Linked DNA regions of Homo sapiens: all the other regions are linked to region 2. Evidence: promoter capture Hi-C in 16 types of primary human blood cells and fetal thymus (Javierre and others, 2016). All regions are on one chromosome and are shown on one strand. Each heading gives the region's core, a stretch centred on a gene start or on the middle of the fragment in contact. The rest is flanking DNA. Distances are from core to core; before and after follow the strand shown. Region 1 overlaps IKBIP (IKBKB interacting protein). Region 2 holds the start of SNRPF (small nuclear ribonucleoprotein polypeptide F). Region 3 overlaps LINC02453 (long intergenic non-protein coding RNA 2453).

Evidence for each region. Contacts are between HindIII fragments. The CHiCAGO score rates a contact against its expected background, and 5 or more counts as called.
Region 1: a contact is called between a fragment that was not itself captured here and the fragment with the promoter of SNRPF in region 2, in 1 of 17 cell types (fetal thymus). The highest score is 5.6, in fetal thymus.
Region 3: a fragment that was not itself captured here is called in contact with the fragment with the promoter of SNRPF in region 2 in 1 of 17 cell types (activated CD4 T cells); the score reaches 7.5 in activated CD4 T cells.

What each region holds. Positions count from the first base shown.
Region 1 is chr12:98,637,920-98,641,501 of GRCh38, forward strand. The region is part of intron 1 of IKBIP (IKBKB interacting protein); the gene reads right to left. Among named protein-coding and RNA genes, the nearest start is that of IKBIP, 5.1 kb to the right of the region's middle. The HindIII fragment of the contact is 4,214 bases long and covers 1-3,582 here.
Region 2 is chr12:95,857,408-95,860,723 of GRCh38, forward strand. It overlaps SNRPF (small nuclear ribonucleoprotein polypeptide F), which reads left to right and starts at 1,545. Exons shown (of 4, transcript NM_003095.5): 1 at 1,545-1,669. The coding sequence starts at 1,667. SNRPF-DT (SNRPF divergent transcript) reads right to left here and starts at 1,432. Exons shown (of 3, transcript NR_135014.1): 1 at 1,347-1,432. RefSeq lists enhancers at 1,254-1,869, 1,268-1,327, 1,378-1,437, 1,558-1,787, 1,818-1,867. The HindIII fragment of the contact is 4,587 bases long and covers 1-2,287 here.
Region 3 is chr12:98,490,344-98,493,738 of GRCh38, forward strand. It overlaps LINC02453 (long intergenic non-protein coding RNA 2453), which reads right to left. Exons shown (of 4, transcript NR_038383.1): 3 at 3,088-3,141. Among named protein-coding and RNA genes, the nearest start is that of TRD-GTC1-1, 11 kb to the right of the region's middle. RefSeq lists a silencer at 188-482. The HindIII fragment of the contact is 2,331 bases long and covers 200-2,530 here.

The DNA.
Region 1 (3,582 bases), core at 848-3,347, 2.8 Mb after region 2:
CTGGCATCCATGTTAGGGTATAAGGTCCTTTATTTCCTTTTTATGAGTCAGGGGCATATTCTAGTGAGAGCAGTTCCCAGTCTTCCCATTTAGATGAGAGTGAAAAACAAGCAATTAGGGTCTGCTAAAGGGTATACCTTCAAGTAGAAGGAAGAAAAGAACTATAAGTAATTCTGGACTTGGGGATTTCTATTTCTAGGATCTTGGCCTTTTGTTGGGGATTAATATCGAATGGAGGCAACGAATCATACTGATTAGGTGGGTGACTGGACTGCCTTAGCTCTGCCATTTACTAAGCTGTATAACCACTTTGGGCAAGTTAAATAACTTTGATGTTTCCTCATCTGTGAAGTGGGGATAATACCTTATTTTAATCTTATTTTTTAAAGACAAGATCTCACTCTATTTCCCAGGCTGGAGTGCAGTGGTGTGATCATGGCTCACTGTAGCCTCCCAGGCCCAATCCATCCTACCCCCTCAGCCTCCTGAGTAGCTGGGAACACAGGCGTGTGCCATAATGCCTGGCTAATTTTTTATAGAGATGGGGGTCTTCCTATGTTGCCCAGTCTTGTCTTGAACTCCTGGGCTCAAGTGATCCTCCTGCCTTGGCCTCCCAAACTGTTGGGATTATAGGTGTGAGCCAGAGCACCCAGCCAATACTTCATAGGGTTGTAGTTTGTTTTTCGACAAGGTCTCATTCTGTTACCCAGGCTGGAGTACAGTAGCCTGATCATAGCTTACTGCAGCCTTGAACTCCTGGGCTCAAGTGATTCTCCCACCTCAGCCTCTCAAGTAGCTAGGACCACAGGTACATTACCACCACTGGCTAATTAAAAAAAAAAATTCTGTAGAGAGGAGATCTGGCTATTTTGTTTGTTTGTTCGTTTTTTGAGGCAGCTGAAGAGGAAGAGGTCTACAGTGACACAATCATAGTTCACTGCAGGTCAAACTCCCTGGGCTCAAGCGATCCTCTCGCCTTGGCCTCCTAAAATGCTGGGATTATAAGTGTGAGCCACCATGCCTGGCCGAGTTATTGTAGACATTAGTTATTGCTATTTATAAAAGCTCCTGGAACAATAGAGCCATAGCACATCAGCTATTTCCTTTAAGTACTGTGGCCCCTTTTTTTTCTCTTTTTGGAGATGGAGTCTCACTCTGTTGTCCAGGCTGAAGTGCAGTGGTGTGATCTCGGCTCACTGCAACTTCCGCCTCCTGGGTTCAAGTGATTCTTCTGCCTCAGCCTCCCAGCTAGCTGGGATTACAGGTGCCCATCAACAAGACCAGCTATCTTTCTTTTGGACTACTTTGTGCAGCTACTCTTCCATCCTTCCTACATGCCTATGATTGCATAAGGGAAGCAGGGTTCCCGACCACTTGCACTTGATAGAAGCCCCAGGCCTGTCCCCCTTTGAACACTAAGTATAAACTGGGTTGTGTTTATGGCAAATGAAGGATGGAATAGATGGATTAGACCACTTATAAATCACTAAATAAAAATAACTCTCGTTTTTGGGCCTCTTCTCACTATCATATCATATGGCCTTGTGGAAGAGTGAGATACAGGAGAAAGGGACCCAGGCTACTTTTAGCGTAGGCCTTACAAAAAGAATCTTCCTGACTCCTTCATGAGCCATTGCAGTCTATAGAGACCTCATACAGATCTATCTAGGGTCCTGTGATAATGAATGGTTTACATTTTCCTACAGTGCATGGTGGTAATTAATGGTGTGTGTTGCCTCTGAATAGCTCCTTTAGGAACGTTAAATGGTGGCAGACAGCTGACTGAGGACTTACAAATTCAGGATTTCCTCTGGCTCTATTTCAGCTTAATAATGAAAAAGAGGCAAATAACCAAAGGAAGCTGTTACGGACCTTCTGCAAGGAAAGAAGTTCCAGGGCCACTATTAGGGTCAGTACCCATTTAGCCCTATGTTTCATACCATCTATAGCCTCAGTTTTAGCACAATACCTAGTTTTCAAGAAAACCTTGACCATATTCCATTTTTAAGAAGCAGGACATTTAAATTATACCCTTGTCTTTTAGATAAAACTCTACTAACACAAAGAAAAAAGCTGGAAATGGAGTTAGCCAAGGTTTTACAGTATGATTTATAGAGAAAATTATATTGGATAATTAAAACAAAAACCAGAGTTATACAACTTGCTTAAAGAGCTTTTGACTTTTTGTACATAATTATAACAGATACTATAAAAAACTTTTATAAAGGCAATTTAGGCCAGGCACGGTGGCTCACGCCTGTAATCCTAGCACTTTGGGAGGCTGAGGTGGACAGATCACCTGAGGTTGGGAGTTTGACACCAGCTTGACCAATGGAGAAACCCTGTCTCTACTAAAAATACAAAATTAGCTGGGCGTGGTGGCGCACACCTGTAATCCCAGCTACTCGGGAGGCTGAGGCAGGAGAATTGCTTGAACCTGGGAGGTGGAGGTGGAGGTTGCGGTGAGCTGAGATTGCGCCACTGCACTCCAGCCTGGGCAACAAGAGCAAAACTCCATCTCTCAAAACAAAACAAAACAAAACAAAACAAAACAAAACAAAAAAGCAATTAAAAAATCTATTGAAGTTTCCATAAGAAACAAAATTTTCACAATGGAAATTCCAGCTGATTAAATTTCTATGTAATTAAATAAGCATGAGTGACAGGTTTTGTGTCTTGTTTAGTAATTTAACAACTTTTTAACTTTCTGAAAGTAGAATCACCTCAATTCTTACCTGAAAAATTTCTATAAGAGTTTAGAAAAGAGCTATGCAAACTGACACTCAAGCCATATGGGTTTGGGCAACTTATCTCCAGTGTTTATTGTCAAGATGACATAGGATATATCAGGCCTTTTTTTTTTTGCAGGGTCTCACTTTGTCACCCAGGCTGAGTGCTGTGGTGCAATCAAAGCTCACTGAAACCTCAAATTCCGGGGCTCAAGCAATCCTCCAACCTCAACCCCCCAAGTAGCTGGGACTACAGGCATGCGCCACCATGCCTGGCTAATTTTTTGTATTTTTTGTAGAGACAGGGTTTTACCATGTTGCCCAGGCTGGTCTTGAACTCCTGAGCTCAAGATCCGCCCAACTCGGCCTCCCAAAGTGCTGGGATTACAGGTGGGAGCCACCACACCTGGCCTATCAGGCCTTTATTTAGCAGAGAGAAGATATTAAAGCAACACACTTTTAAGTTTCTTATGTATTATTTCTCTTTTCTTTCCACATAGGAAATGGTCTGAAGACAATGATATAGTGTGATTCCTTGAAATCCTTCTTGGGCAGTGGAAGGGTTCAGATTTTTTCCCTCCAACTTAATCAGATGAAGAGTGAGAGTAAGCAGTATTTAAGAGTACACAGACAGGCACACATATGCACTTGTATTTTAACCACCAGGGCCGTGTCAGTACGGAAAGCATTTAATAAAGATTTGATAGACCGACTTTTAGATGCTGAATTACGTGTTTTAGTGGTAAAGATCTCAATGGCTTTGTCAAAATTCTAGTGAGCTTTTAAGTATTTTAAGATGCCAAATACTTGCTTTTTATCTGGAAAATGTTTACAAATGTCTTATGGGGATATA
Region 2 (3,316 bases), core at 295-2,794:
ATGGGCAACCTCTAGAGGGTATTTAAAGCCCAGAAAATTCTATAACCAATGCTCTTGAGCCGCTTGCACCAGGCGGTGCCCACCCTGTAGAGTGTACTTTCATTTAAAATAAATCTCTGCTTTCGCTGCCCTGCTTTGTTTGTGCGTTTTGTCCAATTCTTTGTTGAAAACGCCAAGAACTCGGACAGCTACCCTCAACTGGTAACAGTTACCTGCTGGGCCTACTTCCTCATCTCTTAAACGGGGCTGTCACCCCGAATCAGACAGTAAGGTAAGATTTCCACGATTGTTGAAAAAGCCTGACACATAGTAGGAACTCAAAGTCTATACAAAGACTTAAAGTTCATAAAACAATAGACAAACGGAGAAATCCACTGAAGTTTAGGGTGAATAAATCTAATAACTGTTTGGTAAAAACTACACTGACAATCATTGTCTGGTCAGTGTTCAACATTTACGTGAAACACTGAGCTTTTACAAGGCCAAGCCCCGTTTTACGTTAAATTCTCGCAACCACCCTGAGGATGGTTCCGTTTTTAAAGCCGCGTTCCTGCCGAGGAAACAATGGCCCTCGGGGTTAAGACACTGCCCAACACCGGCCGCGCCTGATAGACGCAGGTTCCGAATGCAGGCCCCCTCCAAAGTCTTGCCCACTGCTCCACAATGCCTCAACACCCAACATTTCATCCTCAACTCCAAATCCATCTCTTCAGGGCCGCAAAAAAGCGTTACTTCCCAAAGGGCGTGTTCTCCAAGAACTGCATTTAGCATTTCAGATCAGAGTGACCCGAACTCAATAGGATTACGACAAAAACTAGTGAGATTCAGATAACACCGTTACATCGAAAGTTTTAATCCGTGACAGAGGAAATATTGCTTACGCCCTTAGGTAATTTCAAATGCACGTATGAAGGCCGTGCGGGTTTCTGCAGGCGAAGCAAAAGAAAGGTGGGGCCGGCAGGGTCGTGGGGCGGGGGTGGGGCATGACACCGTATCCCAGACGCAACTCGACCTCGTTTGCAAGAAATTCTGTATCCAACTCTCTTCAGTGCGTTTCGCCGCCCCTAGTCTAGTCTGGCTAGCCCCCAATTCCTTTAAAAGGGGTTAAAACGGGTGTTGCAGAAGAGAGAACACTCAGGTAGAAAGGGCCTGCGGCAGAGGCGCCCCCAAATCATGGAACCTGTTGGAAGAGTGAGGAAGGAACTCTGGGACCCCGAACATTCTCACGGGTGTAAAAAGACAAAGTAAATCCCCATTAGCCAAGTTGGGGAGAAGTCACATCCGTTACACAGCCTCTCCCAGACCGCCCTCTAGGAAGGACACCACATTTAAAAACACCGGCCTGCCTCCAGTCCTTGGCTGCCTCACAGCGATGCTCAGAGCCGGTTTCCCAAGGTCCGCGCGCCGCCTGCAAGGCGCAAACCCAAGCCGCTGCTGGTTGCTAGGAGATACTGGGCCAGCCATCTCCTCCAATCAGCACGCACCTCTTTGCGTCCAATCACAGAGGCAGGAAGGGCCGTGGTGGGAGGTGAAAGGTCATAGTCCTGTTTGGCGGCCATTTCTCTTGAAACTGCGGCTCGGGACCTGCGGTACCTGCTGTAGTCACGAGGGACGGGCGGCGGCCTGGTCGGCAGAGAGTAGCCTGCAACATTCGGCCGTGGTTACGATGGTAAGGAGAAAGAGAACGGCGGGAGAAGCGGGGAGAAAGAGAAGGAGGGAGACCAGCCTCGCGGGGCCTGCTGGTTCCTTCGCGCGTTTCCCATTCATCCGCGTGAGGCGCCGCGCACCCTGTCGCCAGCTCCTTTCACTCTGCTTTTAGGTTTCTGAGGCGCGTGCTCCTCCCGATGCCTTTCTTTTCCTAGGAGTGCCCGTGCCTTCTTCTCTTTGTTTGAATCCGGGCCTGGGGTATTCTTAGTTGGGGCTATAGGGTCGGGGTAAAAGTCAAAGAGAATTTGCACTTCCCACTTAACCACACTCCAGAATTCACTTTCATTCCGTGAAAGTAATGATACGGCCATGCTCTAGATTAACTCACTTGGGTGGGGAAGACAGACATTAGTCAAAAAATAACAAGTATGTAATTGCAAATAATAAGTGCTAAGAACAATGCAGACAGGAGGCTGTGAGGGTGCGCGTTAGACATTAGAGGCTTAGTCAGAGATGGCCTCCCTAGGAGGTGGAATTTAACTCGAAGCCTAAGTGTCATGAAATACGACCCTTTAAAGAGCAGGAGGAGGAGTGTACCGAGCACAGGGAATAGGAGCATAAGACCTGCGGCCGGAAAGAAAGCTTGGTCATTTGGAGAAATTGACAGAAAGGTATAGCCACTTGCGCGAATAGTGGTTAAGAGATGGTATCGGAGGAGCAGGCGTTGGGCAGGACCTCTTAGGCTGTATTGGGAGGTTTTGATTGTACTCCAAATCAATTTAAAATGATTCGGTTGGAAGCCATTGGATCATTTTAAGCAGAAATATGACAATCTGATGTGCACTTTAAAAAATCATAGTTACTGTGGTGGATAACAAATTGGAGAATGAAAACTGGAGACCCATTAGGTTATTGGAGTAATCGCCATATCAAGATCACTCCGAATATGCTCATGTTAGAGGGGGTTAGTAGCCAAGTTTCTTAGTTCTCTTCTTTGTTTGACTGGTGAGTGAGCAGAAGAGGGCAAAAACCGAAATCACTGGAGATGTTAATGGTTTGCTGAATAAATAGACATTAAGTAATTGCTGTAAGTAAGAGGCGGTGCTACTGACAAAGTCAGATAGGACCTAGCCCTAGCTTCCCCAGTTAAATACTGTCAAGCGTGATCTGCCCTCTGCTTCCTTCTGTAGTTTTATATTTGGGGCTTTGACTGACAATGCTGAATTGTATGTCCCCAAAACCACCTTGTTGCATCACTCTTCCCTCCTTTTACATAAGTAGCTAGCCTTGCCTGGAACAGCATTTTTTCCCGCTCTGGAAATAAACTCTTATCCTTTAAAACTGAGGTATTACTTATTTCAGGCAACCTTTCCTTTTTCCCCTGGATTGCTTTGGTACCCTTGTGCCTAGTATATCTCCTTTTACTACAGTGCAGCATGCAATATAATTATTTGTATGTGAGGAGTTCCCCTCCCCATCTCCAACTTCTTGACAGGGACTCATTTATTTATTTATTTATAAGAGACAAGGTCTTGCTCTGTTGCCCAGGCTGGAGTGCAGTGGCCTAATCATAGCTCACTGCAGCCTCGAGCTCCTGGGTTCAAGCAGTCCTCCCACCTCATCCTCCCTAGTAGCTGGGACTACAGGTGTGCACCACCACACCTGACTA
Region 3 (3,395 bases), core at 115-2,614, 2.6 Mb after region 2:
GTTAATGCTGGTCAGATGTGCCTGAATCCCAAAGGGACTCTGTCCCAAAGGGAGGAGAGTATAATGAGGCTTGTCTGACCACCTGTTCCCATCATGACATGAACTAGCGTTTCAGGTAACTTTGGAATGCCCCTGGACAAGGAGGCATCCATTCAACTGATTGGGGAGCTTAGAATTTTATTTTTGGTCTACATGGTAAAGCTTAAAGTTGCGGAAATCATTATCCTCAGTCAAGCTAAAGCCTAGGTATCCAGACCTCTCTTTCACCTAATTTATTTGCAATTAATCCAAAGTTCTAGGCCAGGCACAGTGACTCACACCTGTAAACCCAGTCCTTTGGGAGGCGGAAGCATGGAGGATCACCCGAGGCCAGGAATTCAAGGCTGCAGTGAGCTAAGATTGCACCACTGCTCTCCCGCCTGGGTGACAGAGCAAGACCCTGTCTCTAAAAGAAATTTTTAAAACAAATAACAAAGTACTGGTTTATGCTGTATTTATAAAACAACATATGTAGTAAGATTTTCTTAGTTTTAGAACCCAGAAAGCTGTGCCAAATGCTTTGAGAGTTGACTTATTTCCTATTAGGTTTTTTAAATACTTGCAGTCCAGATACTGCTTTTAATTTTTTAAAAAACAGTATCCATACTTACAGGCTCTGATTAAGTTTCAAAGACTAAGCCTGCCATGCTTGTCGGTGTGTGATTCCTTCCTCTAAGATTCCAGACATTCCCGTCTCCAGGCATCACTGTGTCGGGGGAGCGCTGTGTGAAAATGGCTGTGATCTTTGTGCGGTTTGTCCGGTTATACCTCACTGGGACACCAGAGGGCGCAAGGAGGGCCAGCACTTGTTTTTCTTTAAATCTCGAATCAAAGTCCATGCAGAGAACAACAAAAGACCCGGAACACAGGGGCCTTGAGACAAAGGGACTCAGGGGAAAAGGCTGCACGCCCTGTTTTACTGAAGTGGAATTTGCTTCTTCACCCTCCTCACCTCCTCACCTCCTCCCCACCTTAAGGAACTAGAAATAAACAACTTAAGCTGCAAAATAATGAAATCTGGCTAACAAGGAAAACCAAACTAGAATACATTACTCAACATGTCATAGGCTAAGAGGACTATCACAAATGTACATTTGAGCTATTTGCTTTGCCTAATATTAATAACTTTAAAGAAAATTTTATTGTTTGCTTTTCTGAGTTCAATATATGCACATAGTAGAAAATTTAGAAAAGGTGGAATAGCAAAAAGAACAGCGATCATCAACACACTCTTAACCCAGATATAACTACTTTTAATATCTTCAGCTACTTCTTTCCAGATGTTTTCTTCTTTCTTTCTTCCTTTTTTTTTTTTTTTTTTTTGAGACGGAGTCTCACTCTGTCCCCATGCTGGAGTATAATGGCGCGATCTAGGCTCACTGCAACCTCCGCCTCCCAGATTCAAGTGATTCTCCTGCCTCAGCCTCCCGAGTAGCTAGGATTATAGGCACCCACCACCACGCCCAGCTAATTTTTGTATTTTTAGTAGAGACGGGGTTTCACTCTGTTGGCCAGCCTGGTCTCGAACTCCTGACCTCAAGTGGTCCTCCCGCCTCAGCCTCCCAAAGTGCTGGGATTACAGGCATGAGCCACCGCACCCAGCCACCAGACGTTTCCAGTACTTACAAATGCATAGAAAAAAAATGGGATTCTGCGTGCTATTTTGTGCTGGTTCTCTTCTTATTTTCTAGATCACTAACTTCATTTTATTGATAAATTCTGATAATAAAACTTTGCTAATCATATGAGTTAATCACAGGTAGGAGAATAAGAAATTTCAAAAGCTACAGGCAGCTTTTTTCCCAAAATAGCAGCAACTTGAATGCCAGACCTGAGTCATGCATTTGAAGCAGAAGTTTTTCTGTTGCTTTGTGTTTAGAAAACACGGAAAGACTAAAGAAAAGGCCTGTCGCAGTGGCTCACACCTGTAATCCCAGCACTTTGGAAGTCCAAGGCGGATCACAAGGTCAGGAATTTGAGACCAGCCTGGTCAACATGGTGAAACCCTATCCCTATTAAAAATACAAAAATTAGCCAGGCATGGTGGCCCGCACCTGTAGTCCCAGCTAATCGGGCAGCTGAGGCATGAAAATTGCTTGAACTTGGGAGGCGCAGGTTGCAGTGAGCCAAGGTCACACCACTGCACTCCAGCCTGGGTGACAGAGTGAGACGGGTCTCAAAAAAAAAAAAAAAATCCAAAGAAAAGAAGTAGAAACTGTTCCATCCCACCCCAAACAGGCTGAATAATTTGTCCTTCTGGGTAGCCTGAGGACTGAATGCCAAAGGGCCAGGGGGTGTGGGTCACCAGGACCCTTTGTTCCTCACACTGGGGCTAGTGTTTGCCTCAAAGCTAGACAGATCAGTAAAGCTATTAACCGGGATAGGTCAGCAGGTGGTCAGTAGGGCAGGAAAAAAGTCAGGAAAACGGAGGTCACTGATCTCCTGTTGGGTTGGGGCCAATGTTGGCAGGCAGGTTCCTTAAAGGACAGGAAGCTTAGGCCAGCCCAGGAACAGATAACTCTAAGGAAAGTGATGGCAAGATCTGAGGCCCTGAAAACCTCTGAGGGACACCTAATCACTAAGCCCACAGATTCCTTAATTTACAGCAACAGATAAAGGTGATGTTCTCGGCCACAGGAATTTAGTTAAATCACTGGAGCTGTCTGGCCTCAGTTTCCTTATCTGTATAACGAAAGGATCAAGAAGATAGGTAAGGTTCCTGTCAGTTCCTCAAAGATTGTGATGTTTAATTCTCCCCAGTCATGCATTATAATGAAAGGTGAAGACATTTCCTGCCCCCTGCCACTCCAGTCCCCTAAGCAGCAGCCCCTCCACCATATACTCTTTCCCGCATTGCCACTTTTCCCAAATTGCCACATGCTCTGAGCCTTTGTATTAATGTTTCTCTGTTCCCTAAGTGCTGGAAAACATTTCCCCCATTCTTTTTCTAAGTTCATCATCATTCTTTGGTGGCCCAGCTAAAAATAGGTCTTTCTTTGACCACTCCAGCCCTTCCCTCTCTGTAATCCCGTAGTATTCTGCACATACCTCCATCACTTTCTACCTCTGTAGCCTTCATCTTCCAGTGCCTCAGTTTCCTCACTGTAAAAAGGAGAAAATTATTATAGCAAACTCATAGGATTTAAATAAGGATTAAATGGTATTAAATAAAATGTATAGTAAGTCATTGGTTTGAACTGAGTTCCTACACTAGGCCCAACAGACAAACCAAAATAGAGTCACTCATGCTGGAGTTCCACACCACTAAGCTGAAAATAAGTTGTTTATCTGACCTTCCAAGAAATCAGGAGGGGGCGGAGCATGGTGGCTCACACCTGTAATCTCAGCACTTTGGG